7 separate regions of the Homo sapiens genome follow, and all the other regions are linked to region 1. The links are contacts of gene promoters, found by promoter capture Hi-C in human tissues and cell types (Jung and others, 2019). All regions are on one chromosome and are shown on one strand. The core of a region is centred on a gene start or on the middle of the fragment in contact, and the rest is flanking DNA. Distances in the headings are between cores, read along the strand shown. Region 1 holds the start of KCNE3 (potassium voltage-gated channel subfamily E regulatory subunit 3). Region 2 overlaps P4HA3 (prolyl 4-hydroxylase subunit alpha 3). Region 3 overlaps POLD3 (DNA polymerase delta 3, accessory subunit). Region 4 overlaps PPME1 (protein phosphatase methylesterase 1). Region 5 overlaps POLD3 (DNA polymerase delta 3, accessory subunit). Region 6 overlaps PGM2L1 (phosphoglucomutase 2 like 1). Region 7 overlaps P4HA3 (prolyl 4-hydroxylase subunit alpha 3).

Region 1 (2,919 bases), core at 6-2,505:
GAGTTCAAGGCTGCTGTGAGCCATAATCACTCCACTGCACTCCAGCCTGGGTGACACAGTGAGATCCTGTCTAAAGGAAGGAAGGAAGGAAGGAAGGAAGGAAGGAAGGAAGAAAGAAAGGAAGGAAGGAAGGAAACTGAGATTGCATGCTTAGGTGATTAGGATGACTTTTCTGAGAGGTGATCTCCAGACTGAGAAAAAGGAATAGTAGGGTCAAAACAAGGTGGGTACAATATACCCACCTTGTATATTGTATACAATATACAATATACCCACCTTGTAGTAGGTCTTTTTAAAACGATAGCACTTCTTAGATATATTCTGGGATTCTGTAATTGAGAGTATGTGCTTCAGATATCCTGGAGCAGACCTTTGCAAGGGAGTGAAAGAGCTGGCCTGAGGCTGTTATTAATTATTCTGAGGCAGTGAGCTGGTAAAAGGGCACCCCACAGGGTCCCCCGGAGAAATTCTCTGCAACTGTCCCTTCCTCTGCCACTAGCCTCCTGGCTCTTATTCCTCAGCTGCCCCGGCTGCCCCAGTTCTCTGAAGCCTGCAATGTCACCAGCAAGGAAACAACAGTTTGAGTGAGGGCATGGTGGTGGGAAAATAAACTGTTCTGGGACAGAGATGAGTAAGGTGCGGCTGAACACAAGTTGGTCAGGCACTGTCACGAACTTTTGAGGCTTGGTGGAGGAAACATTTGCTGGTGCTACTCAGAGACAGAGGGGTGTGTAGTGGATTTTGGGTCTGGGCTCTGCTACCTGGGCAAATCCCTTCTCCAACTGGGCCTCTGCGTCCTGTGTGGAAAAGAGTTTGTGTAAGAATCATATTATTTTGCTGTTGACCCTTTGGTTTTAATACTTTGGACTCAAAGGTCTCATCTGACCTCAACCATAAGCCTGTGAAGAATGCATGGAGGAACTGTACCAACTTTACAGCCAGGCCAAGGCCCAGTGAGGGGCAGCGACTCGCCCACCACCACACAGCCACACTGGAGCAAAACCGACTCCTGGAGATCGGCCTCATGCTGGGCTTGCTGAGGCCCAGCGGAGCGAGAGGCTTTCGGTCTCTGGTCCAGGAAGCAGGCGCTGCAGGGGACGGAAGGGTCGGAGCCCACAGCCGGGGGAGGCCAAGGAGCTGGGCGGAGGCACTCCAGGCCAGCCCGGGGAGAAGTGGGTGTGCTGGGGCCCGGGCGGGGCAGGGGGAGGGGACGCCCGGGGGAGGGAAAAGGGAGCCGAGCGCGGGTGGGAGCCCAGAGCCAGAGAGCGCGCTGGGCGGTGCTGGGCACCCGCGGAGTGGAACGGGGCTGGTGGAATGCACAGGGTCGCAGCGCTTGGGCCACCCTCGGTCAGAGGGCGCCGTGTCCAGCGAGCAAACGGGCGCCCCGGAGCCTTGCTGAGAGGCAGGTAAGGCACCCACCCAGCTGGGAAGGCTGAGCTGCGGCCTGGGGTGGAAATGAGGGGTCTTCCCGCCTCCCTTCCAAGGGCCACGGCGCGCTCTCCGTGAGACTGTGGAACCGAGGGGGAGTGGGGGAGGGGTGGGCGCTGCAAATACCAAGCTAGTCCTCCCGGATCCTCCCCGATCCTCCCGAGCGCAGTGATCGTGGAGCAGCATGTGGGAGTAGGGAGCTGGGCTCTGCGCGCCCCGTCTGGAAACCGTGGGGACTTGCGCCGTTATTCCCAGCCCTCAAGACGGCCACAAGAAAAGTTCCTCCACACCCACAGACGTGCAAGCGAACACTTGCAGCTGGCAGCCAGTGCACACGCAGAAACGACATTTCAGGACCCAGCACAGTCTCATTTGGCTGGAGCCACCGGCTCTGCGGAGCTGACTTGCCCATTCCCTCTACACCTCACTGTGTCCTTCACCCTGTCTGACCTAGTCCCGGGAAACCTGGTGACTCCCAAAAGCATCTTCTGCTGCCAGTAACATAGGTCGAGGCTGGGAGTCGGGAGACTTGAGTTCTAGTTTACAGGCTGTGTAAACCCGGGCAGTCATCCCTCAGCTCTGCGCCTTGTGCTCGCTTTTCCTGGGCCACCATTTGTAAAACGGGCCTCCTGCTCCTGTTGCCTGCATACCCCATGGGACAGAAGGGGAAAGGGGGATTGGACCTCAGAGTCTCTTATCTCGAAAATAAATGAGTTTAGTTCTTGCGTGAAAGCCCACCAGAGTATCCCTCCTAAAATCCTCTCCACTAATTTGCATATAGGGAAACTGATGCCCCAGGGGAGATGATTTACCTAAGGTTACAACAGAGACCAAACAGAATTAGAACCCAAGTTTCCTCAGTCCTAGCCCAGGGCTCTCTCCACTTCACCTACAAAGGCATGTTGTAAACGTGTGAGCTCCTCCTTATTTCCTTGCATCCGTCCACTTTGTCTGTTCCTGATGGAGGAAGACCCATGCTGGGGGCCTAGAAGCTGCTTTCAGATTTTCTTGACTCCTTGAGATGATAACCATCACCTTCTCCATCCCTCACTCAGTCTATACGTCTCAAAGCACATCCATAAACTTAATGTGCGAGTGCTCAAAATACCTTCTAAGAGGGAAGCAAGACAAGAAACTCCATCTTACTGATGAGGAAAATGAGGCCTAGAGGGATATAGACTTAGAGTGATAAAGTTACTTAACCAAAACGCACGGCTAGACGTGTTGGCCTAGTAGGGGCAGGAACCCAGGTCTCCTGATTCCCCCTCTGATGTGTTCTCCACCAGCTACAGGACTACAGAATGGTACCCCTCAATGATAAGGGACTGCGGGAATGATCATAGAGGGTAGGAAACAGGAAGGCTTCTGGAGAAGGTGAGGTTCCTGGGAATCAAGAAGAATAATAAGAACCTCCTGGCTGCTTCTGAGGCTAGGAGACCTGGAGTGGGAAAGGAGACACAGAGATGGTTGTTCTTGGTAATATGGGGGGAA
Region 2 (3,130 bases), core at 341-2,840, 170 kb after region 1:
TGTCTCCAATATCAACTTCCAGGAAATTCCACTTGCAGTTCTGGTATTCTAGTTAACTGTAAACTATGAGGAGACAGGAGCTGTGTCTGGTACGTGTTGCCATGTTGCCAGCATTCCAGCATTTAATACAGAACAGATCCATTGAGCTTCCATAGCGTTCCCATGTCTACCTTCATTATGGTGTCTAATGCATTGTGTTACAATTATTGGCTTACTCATGTGCCCCGTCTTGATTTAAGCTCTTACAGGACAGGGCCACTAGGCACATAGAAAATACTTAGTAAATATTGAATAAATGAATGAATGAATGAATGTAATCCATTCTTCACATTGCTACCAGCAATATCTTCCTAAAAATATGACATTCAAGACTGTAATTTGCTTAGCCCATGCTGCTGTTTCAAGTTTACTTTTTGTTTCTCTTCACCCTAGCTACAGCCACGATGGACTACTTGAACACATTCTTGCTTTAGATTTCTGTTGCTGCCATTCCCTCATCTTAAAATGCTTTTCTTCCCAGTCTCTGCTCACTGATATCCTTTTCCTTCTTCAAGGAAGGCCTGTCTCAGATGCTACCTCTTGCATGAAGCTTTCTGAGATTCCCAAGTCTCCTCCCTTCCCTGTGCCACCACAGCATAGTATACATTTTCTTTGGAGCACTCATGATATTCTGTCCCAAATTAGAGTTAATTGAGGTCATGTTCTCTTTTCCTTCAGATTATAAATTCCTTAAGTGCAAGAACCCTTATGTCTCCTCTCCACGTAGTACAATGCGTTGTATATAGTAGATGCTTAATAAATTGAATTAAAATGAATTTGAAATTAAAACCTGCCTTCTTGGATTCCAAAGTCCCTCTTATTCTTTGAATTGTCATTTTCTTTTTCTACCTGTGGAATAAGGCTTTGGCGATGGTACTTGTGTTCTGTGTAGGTGGCCTATGACATGGGGGATTATTACCATGCCATTCCATGGCTGGAGGAGGCTGTCAGTCTCTTCCGAGGATCTTACGGAGAGTGGAAGACAGAGGATGAGGCAAGTCTAGAAGATGCCTTGGATCACTTGGCCTTTGCTTATTTCCGGGTAAGGGAGTAAGTGAAGCTCACTGCTTTTATTATACTAAGTGAAATCCTTTATAGCTGCTTTACAATTTCTAAGTATTTTCATGTCTTCATCTGTTTCATCTTCCCAATAGGACCAAACTGAGCCAAGCAGGGAAGTTATTTTATCATTTCCATATATCACATGTGAGTAAACTGAATCTCCAAAAGACTATTAACTTGTCACAAAGCTTATAGACCTAGGATTAGACTGTTAGTCCAGTGCTCTTTCCAATGCATTGACTACTTTACAATCATTATTTCCCATGTAGGAGGCAGTTTGTCACCTGTAGCAGCAGCTGCTTTATTCACAAATAGTTAATGGGTTCATAATAAATGTAGATCACTCTTTTGTGCTCTCAGCAACTCATAATTCATCACAGATATTACCCATAATATTGCCATGGACAAAGAAGTTTGATTATGAGCTTTTCCCATCTGCAGTTGAGTCCAACTGTAATGTGACTCCTGTCTGGTTACAGAGCTGGAGTCACTGTTCTGTAGTACCAGCCACAGTGCCTCCTCCAGGTGTTATTTTTCCTTGGCACTGTTGATCTACTTACTCCCTGTTGTGCCTTATATAGAAGTTCATTTCCCTAAATAAAGCAGCTGCCAATAAACAAAACTAACCAATAACTGGGTAAGGTATAGCTTTTGTATAGCTAACCCCATTTCCCACCCGAGTTGTACAGTCTTCAAGGGTAGGCTGCAAAAATCTCCATGGAACCAGTTCCCTAGAGTTTCCAAAACTAGTAAACCATTTCTGCTCCCTACCTTTTTTTTCCTTTCCCCATTTTCTTGAGAAAGGGGAGGAGGATGTGGGTGCTCCAAACCCATGTGTTGCTGCCCAAACAGATTTACTCTCAGTGCAGCAAACAGTCCTGTTCCTTTCATGGAAGTTCCTGGCGAATGGATCTTTGTTGTAAAACTGTGTATGTGTTGGCCGGATGTGGTGGCTCACGCCTGTAATCCCAGCACTTTGGGAGGCTGAGCCGGGCAGATCACCTGAGGTCAGGAGTTCAAGACCAGCCTGACCAACATGGAGAAACCCCATCTCTACTAAAAACAAACAAAACAAAAACAAAAACAAACAAAATTAACCGGGTGTGGTGGCACATGCCTGTAATCCCAGCTACTCAGGAGGCTGAGGCAGGAGAATCGCTTGAGCCCGAGAGGTGGAAGTTGTGGTGAGCAGAGATCGAGCTATTGCCCTCCAGCCTGGGAAACAAGTGAAACTGCATCTCAAAAAAAAAAAAAAAAGAAAAAAAGAAAAAAAAAACTGTGTATGTGCTCTTCCTAACTCTCCTGCTAAATTGCTGTGTGTTAAAGCCAAACAGAGTAACTGTGATGTAGGAAGGGGTGAGAAGTAATTGAGTTTTAATAGAGGAAGGAAATGGAGATTCGACATGGAAAGACTCAGAGAAGAGAAACTAAAGCAGCTTACCCTGAAAGACGGAGTTTCAAATGTTGTACCCAATTATTGATTAGTTTTGTTTTGTTTCCCTCTAACTCTGATGGCTTGGATTTCTCTTCTACTTGCTTTCCACATCCTGTTTTGTCTGGTGAAATCCTGTTTATGTTACAAGGCACACCTCGAATGTCACCTACTTTGTGAAGTCTTCCTGAGTTCTCCTCACTCCCCAGGCTTTCCTCCTTGGTGGTCTTACAGCATGTTTTTATTCCCCAGTAACAGAACACATAAGGCATTATCTTATAGATGGTTTGTGTTCCTCCTCACCCCCTAGTAAATTAGAAGTAAATGTCCCTGTGGACCTTTCATTATCACATAAAATTTAATGTATTTTATTTCATTATATATTTTAGTAAAAAAAATTTTAATAACTGCTAATAATGAGAGATGGTAGAGTACAGTGGTTAAGCTATGGGCTCTGGAATCAGACAGTCCTGGATTCAAATGCTGTGAAAACATAGGCAACTTATTTAGCTTCCCTGGGCCTCAGTTTTCTTATTTGTAAAAGAGGAATAATGATGCTCACCTCAAGTGGGTTGCTGTGAGGATTGAGTGAGCTAA
Region 3 (2,977 bases), core at 186-2,685, 140 kb before region 1:
TACTAAATGCAGAAATAATGTTGCTTTTAGTAAAATCTCTAAATTCATTTTTACTCTATGATCCAGCAAGTATCAGAAGTTGGCTCCCTTCAATAATCTAGTTTAAAAACAACAAAGAGACATGTCTTTTATTTTGAGAAACATTTACAATCTGTCTATAATATACTTCTGCCAAGCATAGCTAGAAATTTAAAAATCCCCAGAGAAGCTCAACCTACATTGCTGTTCACTCTCTTCTTGAAGAGCCTGCTCTCTCAGCTTCCATAAAACCATGCCCCACTGAGTCTTCTGCTACCCCTCTCACTGCTTCTGCTTTACTTTCTGAAGAGACTTCTCTACCTCCTCCCTTTCCTTAACTGTTGGTATTCTGTCTTTAGCTATTTTTTCACTCTATGTATTAGAGTGACTGACCATTCCTGTCTGCCTGGGTCTGAGGGGTTTCTTGGGATGTGGAACTTTCAGTGACAAAACCAACCATCCTGGGCAAACCCAGGGTGGCTAGTCACCCTACTACATATTTTCCTCGGTTTATTTCATCCATCTCTGACAACAACATCATCTGCTGAAACCACGCAAGCCAGAAATCTGGGAGTCATTATACTTCACTTCTTCCTATCCAATGAGTTGCCAAGTCTCATCAGCTCTCCTTCCCAAGTAATTCTTGACTCCATGCCCTCCAAATCTCTTGACTAGACTATTTCAATTCCAAGTATCAATTCCTCTTCTCCTCCCCACCTCACCTTCATTATCCATGATGCTGCCAGAGTGAAGTTTAAAAAATGCAAATCAAGTCATTCAATCAACAAAACTTTACCAAGTGGTTACTTTATGTTCTACGCCTTAGGGACAGAACAGTGAATAAAGCAAAGTCCACTCTTAGAGCTTACATTCTAGAAAGGAGACACACAATAAACATATAATATATAATCTCAGATGACAGTAAGTCTATGGAAACAAAGTTAAGTAAGTTAAGGAGGACAGAGGGTGCCTGAGAAGTTTTGCTATTTTATATAAGGTGATTAGGGAAGGCCTCATTAGCAGAGCCCTGCAGGGAGGGAGGGAGCCAGCAAGGTGGATATCTTGGGAAACAATGTTCTAGGCAGAGAGTCCAGCAAATACCAAGGTTCTGAGGCAGGAAGGTCAGCAAGATCCAAGGAACAGAAAGGCCAGTGTGCTGTAGTGGAATAAGGACGGTAGTAGGGGAGAGAGGGCAGAGTGCCAGGCACATAGGGCTTTGTGGCTACCACAGGACTTTAAGAAGCCATTAGAAAGTTGAGAGCAGAGGTAATGTGATCTCACCTTTCAGAAGGATCTGAGAAGGTTATGTGGATGATATACTGTAGAGGGGCAAGGGAGGAAGCAAGACCAGTTAGGCTATTGCAATAACCCAGCCTAGAGATGACTGGTAGCTCAGTTTGGGGCAGTAGCAGTGCAGGTAGTAATTAGTGGATGAATTCTGGGTATATTTTAAAGTGAGAAACAACAGGATTTGCTGATATACTGTGTTGAAGTGTAAGAGAAAGAAGAGTCAAAAATGACTGGACTAGGCAACCCAAAGAAGGAAGCTGTAATTCACTGAGATGGGGGAAAAGCAGGAAAAGCAGGTGTTGAGGGGAGAAGTCAGGAGTTAGGTTTGGGGGCATATTAAATTTGCAATGCCTATTAGTCACTGTTGATGTTGAAAAGGTTGCTAGAGAGTCTTGTCTGAAACATAATTCCTTGTTATAAAGCTTTCAGTAGCGCCAGGTGTGGTGGCTCACGCCTGTAATCCCAGCTCTCAGGGAGGCAGAAGCAGGAGGATAGCTTGAGCACAGGAGTTCAAGACCTGACTGGGCAATATAGCGAGACCCCATGTTCCACAAAAAGGGAGGAGAAAAAAAAAAGTGTAACAAAGCTTTCAGTAGCTTCTCATCCCCTAAGGATCAACTTCAAATCTCTAGCAATGACAGGTAAGACCCTTCTTGTTCTGGGCTCTGTATCTCTGACCATTCCCCATCATACCTACACTATCTTCATCCTTAATGAAACATTCTACAATTCTCTTTATTCCTTTGTATATGCCCTTCCTTCTGCCTAGAAGGCTCTTCTCAGGCCTCAACTACCTAATTTCTCATCAAGACAGCAGCTCAGTTGTCACCTCCTCTATGAAGTATGAACCCTTCCCCAACACCATCAGGTCACCAGGGCACATCTTTTTTTTAAGAGATAGAGTCTCACTCTGTCGCCCAGGCTGAAGTGCAGTGGCGCAGCTCTCTATAACCTTGAATTCCTGGGCTCAAGCCATCCTCCTTCCTCAGCCTCCTAAGTAAACAGGACCACAGGTGCATGCTACCATGCCTGGTTATTATTTTTTCTTCCTGGTAGAAACAGGCTTTTGTTATATCTCCCAGCCTGACCTCGAACCCCTGCGCTCAAGTGATCCTCCTGCCTTGGCCTCTCAAAATGCTAGGATTACAGGAGTGAGCCATCATGCCTAGACAATGAGCTTCTGCCATCCAAGCTCTAACAAATTTTATCCCATATCTATTATTACAGCACATATCACCCTGCCTTCTAACTATTTATTTTACATATGACGCATCCCCTCTAGACTGTTAACACCTTGAGTACAAAAAGGTGCCCTAGTCAGGATTTTTGCTGATTCCTCCTCTTTGCCCTCTAATGTTTCTTTCCATTACAACAATTGTGTTAGAAGGATAAATGAGCTAACAGATCCACAAACATTTTGGTTTATTGATGCTAGTTTGGACCATGCTAAAGGAAGACATGATAGGCAGGTACCATGCCCAAAATGCTTGCAAGCTTGCTGGCCAAATGCACTATCTTTTATCCACAACTAATAGTCCTGCCCATATCATCAGTCATTGTCCTCTATGCACTTGTCTCCCCAAATTGACCCCAGTTCTTCTCTCTTATATTAACAGAAAATGCAAAGCAAACTCTTATTTTAAAAAACAATTCTTGTGGCTGGGTGCGG
Region 4 (3,370 bases), core at 53-2,552, 230 kb after region 1:
AAAAAAAAAAAAAAAGACAACCAGACATTATGTACTTCCTGATGGCAGTACGCAACATCACCTATCAAGTATTCTTGCAAACAAAACACCTGAACCCGATGAAGCTTCTAGATTTAACTATTTACACAGAATATAAGGAACAAAGGAATATGTTAAATTATGGCCTGAGAATTCAATCAGCAAATCCAGATCATGGGAAATTCTATGGGGCAAACAAGGTTTCCTCAAGAAATAAATTGCAAGGAATCAAAAAAAAGAGGGAGACAGAAGTGGAACCTTAGATTAAAAGATGCATGAGAGGTGGATCAACCAATTGCTATCTACTTATTTTGATTTTGACTTTAATTGTAAAAAATTATTTATGAGACAATCAGAAATGTAAATATTGATTAGATATTTGATGATATTAAAGAATTGCCAATTTTTTTACGTGTAATAATGTCATCGTGATGATGTTTAAAGAGCCCTTATTTTTAGATCATATGAAAATCTTGCAGAGGAAATTATATTTGTTTGGAATTTGCTTCAAAATATTTTGTGACTAGGGGAAATACATAGGGGCACAGATGAAACAAATGAGACATGGTTATGGGTTAATAACCATTGAAAATGGACAATGGGAACACTGGGGTCCATCCACTGTATCACTCTTCTTTTATATGTGCAAAATTTTTCCATAATATAAGGTTTTAAAAATGAGACAGTGCATATAAAATACCTTGCACAGTGCCTGGCAAATAGTAAGCACTCAAAGCCATTATCATTTTCATCTAACTTCTGTCTGTTCTGTTGGGCAACATTTTCTCAATTCATCTAAAGTTTATTTTGTGACTATACAGCAATACCCAGAATGCCATGTAATTCTATCAGGAAAGATCAATTGGGCTAAATAATCTTAGCTCACTCTTAGAATCTGGCTTTCACTCAGGCTATGCCAGAGCTTTTTTATTATAATTCCCTCACAGCCAGGTTTGGCTTAGAAGGAGACTGTTACTAGAATGAAACTCAGCTGCTATCACTAAGGTTAACATAATTTGTAATGTCTATGCTCTGGGATTTGCTTTTTAACACGCAGAGTTTTGCTAAGGTAATCCAGTATTAAATGAGGAGGAAAAAAAAGAAAGGGAAGGAAAGGAAGGAGAGAAAGGAAGGCAGGCGAAAGAAAATCTATGTCTGTCCCAACTGAACTCACCTTTAAAATTATTTAAAATAATAAAGGCATTTACCGGAATGGTAGAATTGGTGTAAGACAAAAGAAGCAATCTGTAATTCCCTCACCATGTTTCCGCCTCTAACCAGACCAAGGGGGAAGAGTAAGACCTACTGTTTGACTTGGCCAACCATTGAGACACGGGCAGACTCCAGATTTCGAATCTGGCCACTCTTCACACTGGGAAAGAAAAGAAAGGAAGAGAGAAGGTTATTCAGTATCTATTGTATCACATCATTGGAATCAAATAAATAATTCTACAGATTATGTGAGACCTAATAAAAAGTAGTGATCACCAGTGTTTCTTACTATAGAGATTGCCACTATTACTCACCTGGCTACATGGTTTTATAAGTAAAAATTAAGTAAAAACATCATAGCCATTTCAGTTCTGCAGATATTTATCAAGAGGATACTAGGTGCCAGGCCTGTATTCAAAAAGCACATAATTCGGTAGGGAGAAAAAGACACATATAATGTTAATATAATGAGGCAAGGTTCAAAGAAAGCACTTGAACATGAATGAGGAGGTCAGAGAAAGCTCCCCAGAGGTCACAGCTAAACTGAGGAGTATAGATAACAAGTTTAACCAGAAAATAAAAGAGGTTGGTTAGAGCATTCTAGGCAGAGGGCACATTATGTACAAAGGTGCTGTGATGTGAAAGTCGGCAGGATAATGATTTTAGAGAACTGGGTGCAAGGAGAAGCAGGGAGGAGATAAAAGGGGAGCGTGACAGAATAGGATTGGAAGGCAGGCGCCAGCTTCTCCAGGGCCTTGTGTGCCGTGCTACAGGGCTTAGGCTATCTGAATAAATTAGTCTTCTCACATTTGTCCACCTAAGTACAACTAAGGCAGAGCAAAATGACTGCATTCCCAGGGTGAACTGGAAACACTGCCTGAAGCAAGCCACTAGGAGAAAGCACTTCTTTAAATCTCATTTCTTAGTTTAAAAAATCATTCAAAATTTTAAAGCCCCTCTCCTCAGATAATGACATGATTTCTTACTTTAATGGTAAACCGAGGCAATCAGAACTATTACCTCATCTTTTAACTACCAAATGAATCCACAAATTCACCAATACTTGTAATAATATACTCTGCCTTGATGCCTGTTTAATACATGAAATATCTATTCCTATCAAGGCCAACCTTGGGCACTAGTTCCCATCCCCTCTTGCTTCTGAAAAGATACTCTTTCTTTCAGTTATCCTGTCTCTCTTCTGTGTCACTTTTTTTCTCTCGTGGATGTCACAAGCATACTCCATTATCCAGCCTTTAAAAACATTCCCAATGCCACATTCACTACTACCTATTACTCCATTTCTCTGCTCTCCTATACAGCAAAGCTCCTCAAAAGAGTTATCTTGCTTTCTCTACTTTGTCACCTCTCATCCTTTCCCCAACTTATATATGATTTTTATATCCCATTTATTTTCAGATATTTATTTTGTCAAGGTCACCTCTATCATGCCAATTCCAATGGTCATTTCTTGGTCCTCATCTTACTTGATCTCTCTGCAGCATCCGACACAGTTATTCTCTCCCTCCTTCTACAAACACTTAATATACTCACCTGGTTTTCCTTTTATCTCATCAACTGTGCCTTTTCAGTTTCTTTGTTGGATCTTCCTCTTCTTCCCAAGCTCTAAATATTGTGGAATATCCCAAGACTCAGTCTTGGATCTTTTTCCTATCAATATCAAGTTCCTAGGTCTTTACATTCAATCTTTCACTTTTAAATATTAACTATGTGATGACGATTCTCCAATTTATCTCTAGTTCAGCCTCTTCTAACTAGTATATACAACTGCCTACTTAACATTTCTACTTACATATGTAATAAGCATTTGAGTTTATCCAAACAAAACTGATTCTCTGCCCCTTATTTGCTCCCATATCTACCTCTTTCTGTTTCTACCATTCACCCAATTGCTTGGGCTAAAAACCTAGAAGTCATCCTTAAGTCCCTTCCTGCCCTTCCCCGTCTCTCTCCCAACATCCAATCCATAAACCAGTCCTGTCAGTTCTACCTCGAAAATACATTAAAAAATGACTCTCTTCCTCTGTTGCCATCCTCGTCTATGTTTACCATTATTACTCTCCTTTACTATAACAGTCTCCTAACCAACTTCACACCTCATTCCCCACTTCTTCTATTT
Region 5 (2,949 bases), core at 55-2,554, 150 kb before region 1:
TTTCACTTCAGGTATAATATGTCATTACATTAACATTCATTCGTTAGTCAAAGTGAGGTAAGAACATGCTTACTCATAGCAGCTTTTCCAAAAAAGTTGCTCATCATATTCCCTTTCCCTGGTGCCTTGTTGCCTGCTGCAGATGCCTACAAGCACAGAAAACACATATGATTTTTTGCTGGCATTTAGGCTGTTCATGAAGTAGCAGTCTCAAACAAACTCTTCTATAGCAAACTGTTGCGATGGTATAGTCTCTATATAATCATGCCAAAACGCGTAGGTGTTAGATATAAGAACAAATCTAGAACAATAATCCACACCAGACAGTAACTGGTGTTAATCTCTAAAGCTTAGTTTCTTATATATCTTATAAAATTAATTATCCATGGATATAGCTAAACTTTTCTTGAGCACATTTAAAAACTATTTAATTTGACAGAATTAAAAAAGATCAGAGGCAGTATGTACACAAAGCGGGAAAACCTAAAACATTACATTTTTAATCATCAGAAGTAGATCTGAATTCCTGGTTCCCACCATTTAGTAGCAATATGGGCTCCAGGCAAATTACTTAAGTCTAGGTTTCAGTTTTACCATATGCGAAAGGGAAATAGTTAATATCTCCCTCACAGAACTGATAAGAGGATTTAAACAAAGACACTGGCACACAGTTGAAATTCAATAAACGTTAGTGTTTTCCTCCATCCTTCTTCTTTCCCAAGACAGACGCTTGAAAATGACAGTGATCTGAATTAAATACACTTGACACTGGAAAATGACAGTGATAATAATAATAGTAACAACAATAATTATGCTTTTCTGGATTTTTAAAATAGTATCTTAATGATACTTTTCTTAAGTCAATGCCCTTGAGTTAGTTCAGATGACTGAACAATAAAAATCTAAGAGAAGCAAATAAGGCAAAAACAAAACAAAAAAACCTGCATAAAGTATAAGAATGGGAAATACACTAGGAAGGAAGGTATATGTTGCAAAGCCCAGAATATAAGATGTTCCTCAGAAAGACATATTGCAAATAAACATTTTTTTGAATGTCAACAATTCTCGAGGTGTTTTCACATGTTTTCATCTGGGTTTCACAACAATCTTGTAATGTGCACAAGGTAGGCATTACCATTTTGCAAAGGAAATCCAAGGTTTGGTGAGAATCATTATCAAAAGCAAAAGAACTCTTTCAGATAACAATATCAAGTATTAAAGGGTTCAAACTAAAGTAGAAAAATCAGAACTGAATATCAGAATCTTATATAAATAAACTACTACCACTGCAACCATTAATGCTTTTCTAGTTACCCACTCTGAGCTGCAATGAAGGGGTATCTTCAAAGAAGACTTACATTTGTTACTTCTTTAGCCTCTGTTTTCGTTTCCTTGTTGGTTTCTTGGGTTTTAGCAGCAGCTTTGGAGGCAAACATTCCCATAATTCCTTTGGGCTGCTGGGAAACCTGCTTGGATGCAGGTGGGCCATGACCATTGGTGGTCAGCTCATTGTTGGCTTGTGTCTCACTTGACATGTGAAGATGTGACTGCTCAAACTTTTTGGAAGACGAAGAGGATTCAGCAGGAGCTCTAGGGACGGCAGCTGCACATTGTATAGCACTAAATCTGGGGACAGAAATGTTACATTAAGTTAATGTCAGCATATGCATTCTTGGGTGGTTCAACAAAAAAAGAAAAAAAAAACTAATGTCAGTATAAAACTTTATTTTCAAACTCTTGCTTCTTCCACACAATACTTAACTCTAATATTGTTTAGAATCGACTTTAGAAAAATGTATGAAACTCTCTATTACATAAAGAAACAAATATTAGAGAGAAGTGAGTCACTTTTACTAGGTTATACATCTAGTTAGTAATAGATAGGATTGGAATTAGGTGCCTTCTACCACTAATTGAATATTCTTGTTTTTGATAAAAGTATTCTAATTCAAAAGAGTAGGAATGCAACCAACAATAATAAAAGATGCAGTAATTTCATTATCCTTGGGAAATGAAATAGCCTTTGTTTTTAAAGACCTTCCTCTGATAGGGCTAGATTTGCAATATTGACTGAATCAAAACTAAGCTTTAAATATTAACAAATTTCCTGGCAACTCTCTTGGCCAGAGTAAATCATGCTGTAGGGTTGGGCGCATTGGCTCACGCTTGTAATCCCAGCGGTTTGGGAACCTGAGGCGGGCGGATCGCTTAAGCCTAGGAATTTAAGATGGGCCTGGGCAACATGGTGAAACCTTGTCTCTACAAAAAATACAAAAATTAGTTGGGTGTAGTGGCGCATGCCTATAGCCCTGATTACTCAGGAGGCTGAGGTAGGAGGATCACCTGAATCCAGGAGGTCAAGGCTGCAGTGAGCCATGAGCTCATCACTCAACTCCAGCCTAGGAACAGAGTGAGATGCTGTCTCAAAATAAATAAATAAATCATGCTTTAAAACAAAGAAGAGGCCAGGTGCAGTGGCTCACGCCTGTAATCCCAGCACTTTGGGAGGCCAAGGCAGGTGGATCATGAGGTCAGGAGTTCAAGACCAGCCTGGCCAACATGGTGAAACCCCGTCTCTACTGAAAATACAAAAATTAGCTGGGCGTGGTGGCACGCGCCTGTAGTCCCAGCTACTCAGGAGGCTGAGGCAAGAGAATTGCTTGAACCCAGGAGGCAGAGGTTGCAGTGAGCCAAGATCACACTACTGCGCTCCAGCCTAGGCGACACAGCAATACTCTGTCTCAAAATGAAAAACAAAAAAAAATGGGAGAAGCTGGAAGCAGAGCCACTGGCTCCTATAACCTATAGTCCTTTACAGCCATTTGTTAATAATTTCTAATAATACTAACAGCACCGGACAAGTAAGTATGCCCAAGGCCAAGAGAAGAAAATTGGTGGAACAGCTTGTGTGGCATATTAAAGGGAACATACATCTCTCTCTAATCATTA
Region 6 (2,958 bases), core at 459-2,958, 130 kb after region 1:
CAAATTGCTTATGGGAGATAGCACTGTAATTAGAGAATTTATTTCATATAAAATAATAATATAAAGTTTGAACTGATTAGAATGTTCCTTAAATCATGGTTTCGTTTGTTGCAGCTGTCAGCTAACATTTGGTTGAGCTCATATAATCCAAACCTAATTGTCCAACTATTGTATTGCCACTATTGTTAATTTGTTCCTTCCTTACTTTCTTATTGTTGGATCTTATATGACTGTATGACTGTAGATAATAGACAGCTAGCTAAATGTAGAGCACCATTTTTCTCAATGAGTTTGTTTTCAAAGGCTTTGCACTGGAGAAGATATGTGTAGAATTTTTGTTTTATTTTTAAAATGTGTAAAACATCTTTTGTTTTATATGCTTTTAAGAATGTAGATTGTAATTTAGGAAATGGCATATATTCTGCAAAGTGGTATAATGTTGTATATATGAAAAACAGGTATATTTGGTTTAGTTCTGTGTTTCAGTGACTGATAAACAAAAATGAAGCTAAAATGAATCAACGGCTCATTCATAGTTACTAAAGCCATGTCATGACTGTCATTCTATTATGAAGAAAACAGTTTTATTTGAGTGCTTTAATATAATGCAACATTTAAGTCATCTTAAGGTGAAAAGTTATTGAAGTGTTCTTCTCTCAAGTTAACAAAATTTTACAAATGTTCCTGAAGTGTATCGATTGAGGGAATTATTTTATTCTAGCCTGTCATGAGTCTGTCTGAGCATGATACTTAACATGAACTTGATGTAGTAGGTGCACATTTGCCTAACAGGATAAATTCAGTGATAGCCCAAGCTGGTCAGGAGAGACAGAAGTGCTGGCTAGGAGGTCTCAGCCTCGGGCACTACAATGTTTATCTTTTTCTTTTTGAACAATATTGTGAAAATGATTGCATTCTCATTGAGCATGAAAGTCAAAACTGGAATTTTCTAAAGCTTTGGAGAAAAGGAGAGAATTAGTAGGGCAAGATCAAAGCATACATTGGAAATAAACAGTAGAAATAAGCAAACAATATAAAGAGACACGGGAAATGCTTCTCGTGAAGGGCAAATGTAACACCATAACAGTAGGGAATAAACTGTGTCCCACCTGTTTACTTGTGTTTATTTGTTGTTATGATGAGTATGCACCTACCATTTTCCTTTATTGTGATCACTAAAATGAGGCCAAGGTTTAGGAGGTGAGAAAAAGTATCCCTTTTACGGATTCAGTTCCTGCTAGGATGTTGTATCAGAATCATGTGAGAACTCAGGAAGAGGTAGAGCAGAAATAAAAAGGAAGAAAATGTAGATTAGAAAATAAGACTTCTGAGAAAAAGTTCAAGGAATAAAGATTGTTTGACTCTGGAGAGGAGAAAGCTGTTGAGATAGTTTGCTAAGTTTGCTAATAAAGCTTTATTGAGTCTTTTATTGAAGGGTTCAAAGTAAGAAATACTATGCCATAGTGTTCTCCATCTCTAGTGAAGACAGAACCAGAGGGAATAAGGATCTTTTTTTTAAAGACAGCATGGAAAGTTTAAGATTTAGGAACTTCTTGAGAAATCTTCATAATATCTTCTATTCAAAATCTTTTTTTTATTTTTAAGGGAATAAAAATTTTAAAAATTAAGAGATATACAGATGACTTTTTAAGGGTCCTTCTTTCCAGCACATTTTTTTTAAAAACTCAGGTTAGAACAAAAATGTCATAAAGGGCACTAAAAGTAACATTTGGGTTTCACTCCATATCTAGAAGAATTTAGCTCACAAAACAATTTTTGTGTGTTTTGAGTAACTGATGCATAAGTGCAATGAATAATTTTCCTGCTTCACTGTTATTTTTAATTTAACCTGGCAAATTAAGTGAGACTTGAACAAAATTTTGTTCATCTTGAAGAATGTATAGTGGCTTAGGTTATTTGAGGTTTTCGTTTTGAATATATATGTTGTTATTTTGATGTAGATACGTTAGCAGATGGAGAGGTTCTAAGAGATTGGATACTTTGGAATGTCTTTATATAGGAAATAGACCTCCCATTTCTTAAGCAAGTTGCTTCTGGAATTGATGCAACAGGGATATTAGCTGTAGTTTAATGGATAAGTTGTTCTATGAGCTGCTGCTATCAGTACTTTTTTCCACATTTTCCATTGATATTTGTGATGCTTGAAAAATCCAAACTTCACTTGGATACATTTAATTTTATGCCTTTTTCTCTCTACCTCCCACTTTTCCTAGGCACCCTTGCACATTTTGTTACTGTGAAGGACTATTGCCCTGTTACCTCACTGATAAGAAATCTCAACTGTATTCATTCAGAATGCTTTAAGCTTAGTCATAAACTACATTTGCCTATGGACCTTTGGTTATTTTGTTAATGTTGTCATTATATTTAAGACTTATTGTAGGAAGTAATTTTAAATCTATTTCATAACCTGTTTTGATCTGTCTGCATACTGCTATATGTTAATTTATTACGGCCTTTTACAATTCACTTGTCATCTGAGATTGTTCTAGAAACTGATGAGGAAAGAGTCGTACTAACCAAAATGAATGGGCAATTGACATAACATTCTATTTCAGGTTTCCTTGTACTTGGGGAGCCAAAGCACAAGATCTAAGGAAATCTTATTCACATTTGTCCCTCAGAGCATCTTACCCTAAGCCATAGAGGTATAAATAGTAAGATGAGAATTGCTCATTGTCTGACTCCTTGCACAGCATGAATTTAATTCTAGTTGGAAACAAAGTTAGTGTTGACTACTGGTTACCTTAAAGTATTCACCATACTATATATTTATTAGACCATCTTTCCTCTTTGTTTATTCAAGACTATGTACTTATAAAAGAGAACCTATAAGAATGTGTAGAGTGACCAAATAGGGACAAAGTGACATACCTAGAGTTTGCTGCTCAAATTTTTCCACTAGCGTAACCCTAAAGCAGAGGGGCATGATGAAGG
Region 7 (2,947 bases), core at 121-2,620, 200 kb after region 1:
TATATCCCATCTTTGATGCCCCCATTTTACTTCTATTTGTATTAATAGTGGAATCCTGCCTGTCCCTCTGGTGCCATCTGCATAAAATAATATGTTCTGTTTTTTTTTTTCTCAGTCACCAAGCAGCCCCCTCTACAGAATGAAGTCAGGAAACCGAGTTGCAACATTTATGATCTATGTGAGTATTGCTCTGGGCTTCTTACTTCATGACTGACTATAGCTCTACTTTATTTTATTGTTTTCAAAGCAATTTCACGTATTGATTTTATCTGGTACTCAGCGCAAAAATCTCCAGGAATTTTGCGAATTTCAGACAGCATTTTTGATAGGCACTGTAGGAGATGTAAAGAAATACAAGACAAGGTTTCTACCCTGAAAGAGGCTGACAGTGTGTAAATCTAAATATGACCTTGGTATGGGCAGTGGATTAGGATGGGAAGTGGAGCTCCACTGAAGGCCAAGAGATAGAGGGACTTGAACAACACAGGAGGAGGATCTGAGAATCTGTGTCCTTGAGGTCTCATGGACTAATCAGTGTTGAAAAACAACCCATAGATGAGGTTGTGGGGCTGTGGGGAGGGAGATGGATGAGGAATGAGGCAGCAGATTTACAAGAGGGAAGAACAGAGACACTGAGAGAAATTCAGCAAGTGCTGCCTCTGATGTTTAGTGAAAATTCTCTTCCTTATCTCTCTATAAAATCTTCAGTAAAATCTCCATGACTCCCCTTTCAAGATAAACCAATAAATTGTACTTCTCTCCTAATTCCTGGCCTGATCAGGATTCGGCCCCAGTCTGTATCATCTCACCTGTCCCCTTCCCTTCAGATCATGTGGGTTTACTTTCGTCTCTATGGACAAGCTTCCAATCACCTGTCACTGGAAGAGAATATTAGAATTAATCACTTATTAGAAGAGATACCTTACTGTTAACTGAAGGGACAAACATATATAAGGGTTCTATATAACAACCAAAGATGAAGTCCTTGTTTCAGCCTCATTAGAATAGCAGACATCCCTCACCCCAGCTTTTCCTCTTCTATTAGGACTGTCTCTGGTCTCCACAGGACAGCCAAGAAAGGGCAGTCAGAGGCCAGCATTCTGTGTAGTCTTTAATGCCAGCAATTCCAGTGTGTTTCTCTATGTGGCTCAGTTCTGTACTTCCTATGGAACTGGAAGGCTTCCACTTACAATGGTGTCTGGCCTCATTCTGATCATTCTGAGGTCAGCTATCAGGCAGGGGACACATCTTGGAGCTGCAGTTGGTTGCATCTCTGGTTGACCACTCCAGCTGTTATGGGAGGTCACAAACGGCGAAAGAATGAACTGCTGCCAAAAAACAGGGCATCTAGGGCACAATATATCTCTGTTCTTTATCCCCTCAATATCTCCTATGGCTGGTTCCCTGGTTACAGGGCCCCAGTTACTATAGCGAAGGTAGCGTGGGTATAAGAGCCCAGTAATTTTAAATGGCAAATGCATGTGTGTGTGTGTGTGTGTGTGTATGTGTGTGCATGCACTCTCATGCACTTTCACATGTGTGTGCATGCATGTGCATTTGGGTTTTAAGTATTTGAGACAGAGTGGAATGGAATACACTTTGGATTTGGAGTCAGTTGACCTAATCCTGATTTTGCCACTTACTATGTGGCCTCAGCACAGATTACATCTATTATGTGAGCTCACTTTTTGCCCTGTGCTTCCTCACAGTGTTGTTGTGAGGGTCTGATGAGATAATGTAAGGAGGGATGTCACTCTGGAAAGTTCCATACTGTATGTTTCTGTCATTGTATCCCACAGAGCAATTAAAGGAAAGGGTATCATAAAGGGGAATCAGTATCATGGGACCAGGGAAGTGCTAGATTATGCCCAAGTCTTTCATCTTCAGGTTGGGATTTCTCGAGACAATTTCAAGACAAACATTTCTCAAGACAAATGTTAAGGTTTGTGGGAAACCTAAGACTGATTTTATAGGGAGAAAATAATCTTTAAGAAGTACAGAGGATTGAGTTGAAGTCCAGTTGGTGATTTTCTGCTCAGATTGGACATAAGATCAGTCCCAATCTGGGTGCGGTGGTGTGCACCTGTAGTCCCCGCTACTTGGCAGGCTCAAGCAAGAAGATCGCTTGAGCCCAGCAGTTCGAGTCCAGCCTGGGTAACATAGTGAGACCCTGTCTCTATTAAAAAAAAAAGATCAGCCCCAGTACAAAATAGTAGAAGGTATACAGACGGAAGATTTCTCTCCCTTTCCCACTGTTCTTACAGCCCATGCCGTGCTCATGAGCTTCATTGCATGCAGAATCCGATTTTCTTTTTAATGTGTTGGCTATGTCATTCCTTTCCACCATATTGTAAAACCACAGGTAAAAGAATGCAGGAAAGTCCAGGTTGCCCCTTACTGACAAGGGCTAGAATAGAATAATCTAATTTGTTACCTGAACACAAGGAGCCAATTGTTGTTCTCATCGGCTTTCCCAGTGTGCTACAGGGAGAGCCAAGGAATGCTAATAGTCACCACTGCCATTTCCAGGTTCCAAATCACCATGTCAGTTCACTTGCATCTACCAAGGGCCAGCGTCCTACCTCCTATACCTCTTGCTCTGTAACACAAGTAAATGTACCGGGATCTGACTGCCATAAGATTACAGAGCATGAACCTTCTGGTAGATAATGCTAGGCAGCGTGAGGTAAAACTGGCACTCTTGTGTGATGCAACTGCTGAAAAAATAATTTAGCAAAATGTATAAGAAGTATGAAACTTATGCATGTCCTTTTGACCCCATAATACTAGTGCCAAGACTCTTTCCTATGAAAACAATCCAAAATGCAAAATGATTTTTTTTCATTAAGTTGTTCAGTGCAGTGTTGTTTATAATAGTAAACATTTGGATATGACCTAAATTTCCAAATGTGTAGCATGATGGTTATGAGCAGGGACTTTGTAGTCA

Evidence for each region. Contacts are between HindIII fragments. The study calls those that stand out against the background at their distance.
Region 2: a fragment that was not itself captured here is called in contact with the fragment with the promoter of KCNE3 in region 1 in 3 of the 25 tissues and cell types used here (IMR-90 fibroblasts, dorsolateral prefrontal cortex and mesenchymal stem cells).
Region 3: a contact is called between a fragment that was not itself captured here and the fragment with the promoter of KCNE3 in region 1, in 1 of the 25 tissues and cell types used here (heart right ventricle).
Region 4: a fragment that was not itself captured here is called in contact with the fragment with the promoter of KCNE3 in region 1 in 2 of the 25 tissues and cell types used here (IMR-90 fibroblasts and aorta).
Region 5: a contact is called between a fragment that was not itself captured here and the fragment with the promoter of KCNE3 in region 1, in 3 of the 25 tissues and cell types used here (H1 embryonic stem cells, bladder and thymus).
Region 6: a contact is called between a fragment that was not itself captured here and the fragment with the promoter of KCNE3 in region 1, in 2 of the 25 tissues and cell types used here (dorsolateral prefrontal cortex and liver).
Region 7: a fragment that was not itself captured here is called in contact with the fragment with the promoter of KCNE3 in region 1 in 6 of the 25 tissues and cell types used here (IMR-90 fibroblasts, aorta, dorsolateral prefrontal cortex and 3 more).

What each region holds. Positions count from the first base shown.
Region 1 is chr11:74,465,885-74,468,803 of GRCh38, reverse strand. It overlaps KCNE3 (potassium voltage-gated channel subfamily E regulatory subunit 3), which reads left to right and starts at 1,255. Exons shown (of 3, transcript NM_005472.5): 1 at 1,255-1,406. The HindIII fragment of the contact is 14,037 bases long and covers 1-2,919 here.
Region 2 is chr11:74,296,163-74,299,292 of GRCh38, reverse strand. It overlaps P4HA3 (prolyl 4-hydroxylase subunit alpha 3), which reads left to right. Exons shown (of 13, transcript NM_182904.5): 4 at 932-1,081. Among named protein-coding and RNA genes, the nearest start is that of P4HA3-AS1, 14 kb to the left of the region's middle. The HindIII fragment of the contact is 3,038 bases long and covers 72-3,109 here.
Region 3 is chr11:74,601,007-74,603,983 of GRCh38, reverse strand. The region is part of intron 2 of POLD3 (DNA polymerase delta 3, accessory subunit); the gene reads right to left. Among named protein-coding and RNA genes, the nearest start is that of POLD3, 9.9 kb to the right of the region's middle. The HindIII fragment of the contact is 5,133 bases long and covers 1-2,977 here.
Region 4 is chr11:74,233,921-74,237,290 of GRCh38, reverse strand. It overlaps PPME1 (protein phosphatase methylesterase 1), which reads right to left. Exons shown (of 14, transcript NM_016147.3): 8 at 1,325-1,390. Among named protein-coding and RNA genes, the nearest start is that of PPME1, 64 kb to the right of the region's middle. The HindIII fragment of the contact is 5,319 bases long and covers 1-3,370 here.
Region 5 is chr11:74,617,214-74,620,162 of GRCh38, reverse strand. It overlaps POLD3 (DNA polymerase delta 3, accessory subunit), which reads right to left. Exons shown (of 12, transcript NM_006591.3): 6 at 1,359-1,626; 7 at 74-146. Among named protein-coding and RNA genes, the nearest start is that of POLD3, 26 kb to the right of the region's middle. The HindIII fragment of the contact is 4,717 bases long and covers 1-2,949 here.
Region 6 is chr11:74,331,833-74,334,790 of GRCh38, reverse strand. PGM2L1 (phosphoglucomutase 2 like 1) reads left to right here. Exons shown (of 14, transcript NM_173582.6): 14 at 1-2,958. All of the region lies in intron 2 of LOC112268078 (a long non-coding RNA gene), which reads right to left. Among named protein-coding and RNA genes, the nearest start is that of P4HA3, 22 kb to the right of the region's middle. The HindIII fragment of the contact is 3,435 bases long and covers 1-2,958 here.
Region 7 is chr11:74,270,776-74,273,722 of GRCh38, reverse strand. P4HA3 (prolyl 4-hydroxylase subunit alpha 3) reads left to right here. Exons shown (of 13, transcript NM_182904.5): 10 at 116-178. Among named protein-coding and RNA genes, the nearest start is that of P4HA3-AS1, 39 kb to the left of the region's middle. The HindIII fragment of the contact is 5,625 bases long and covers 1-2,947 here.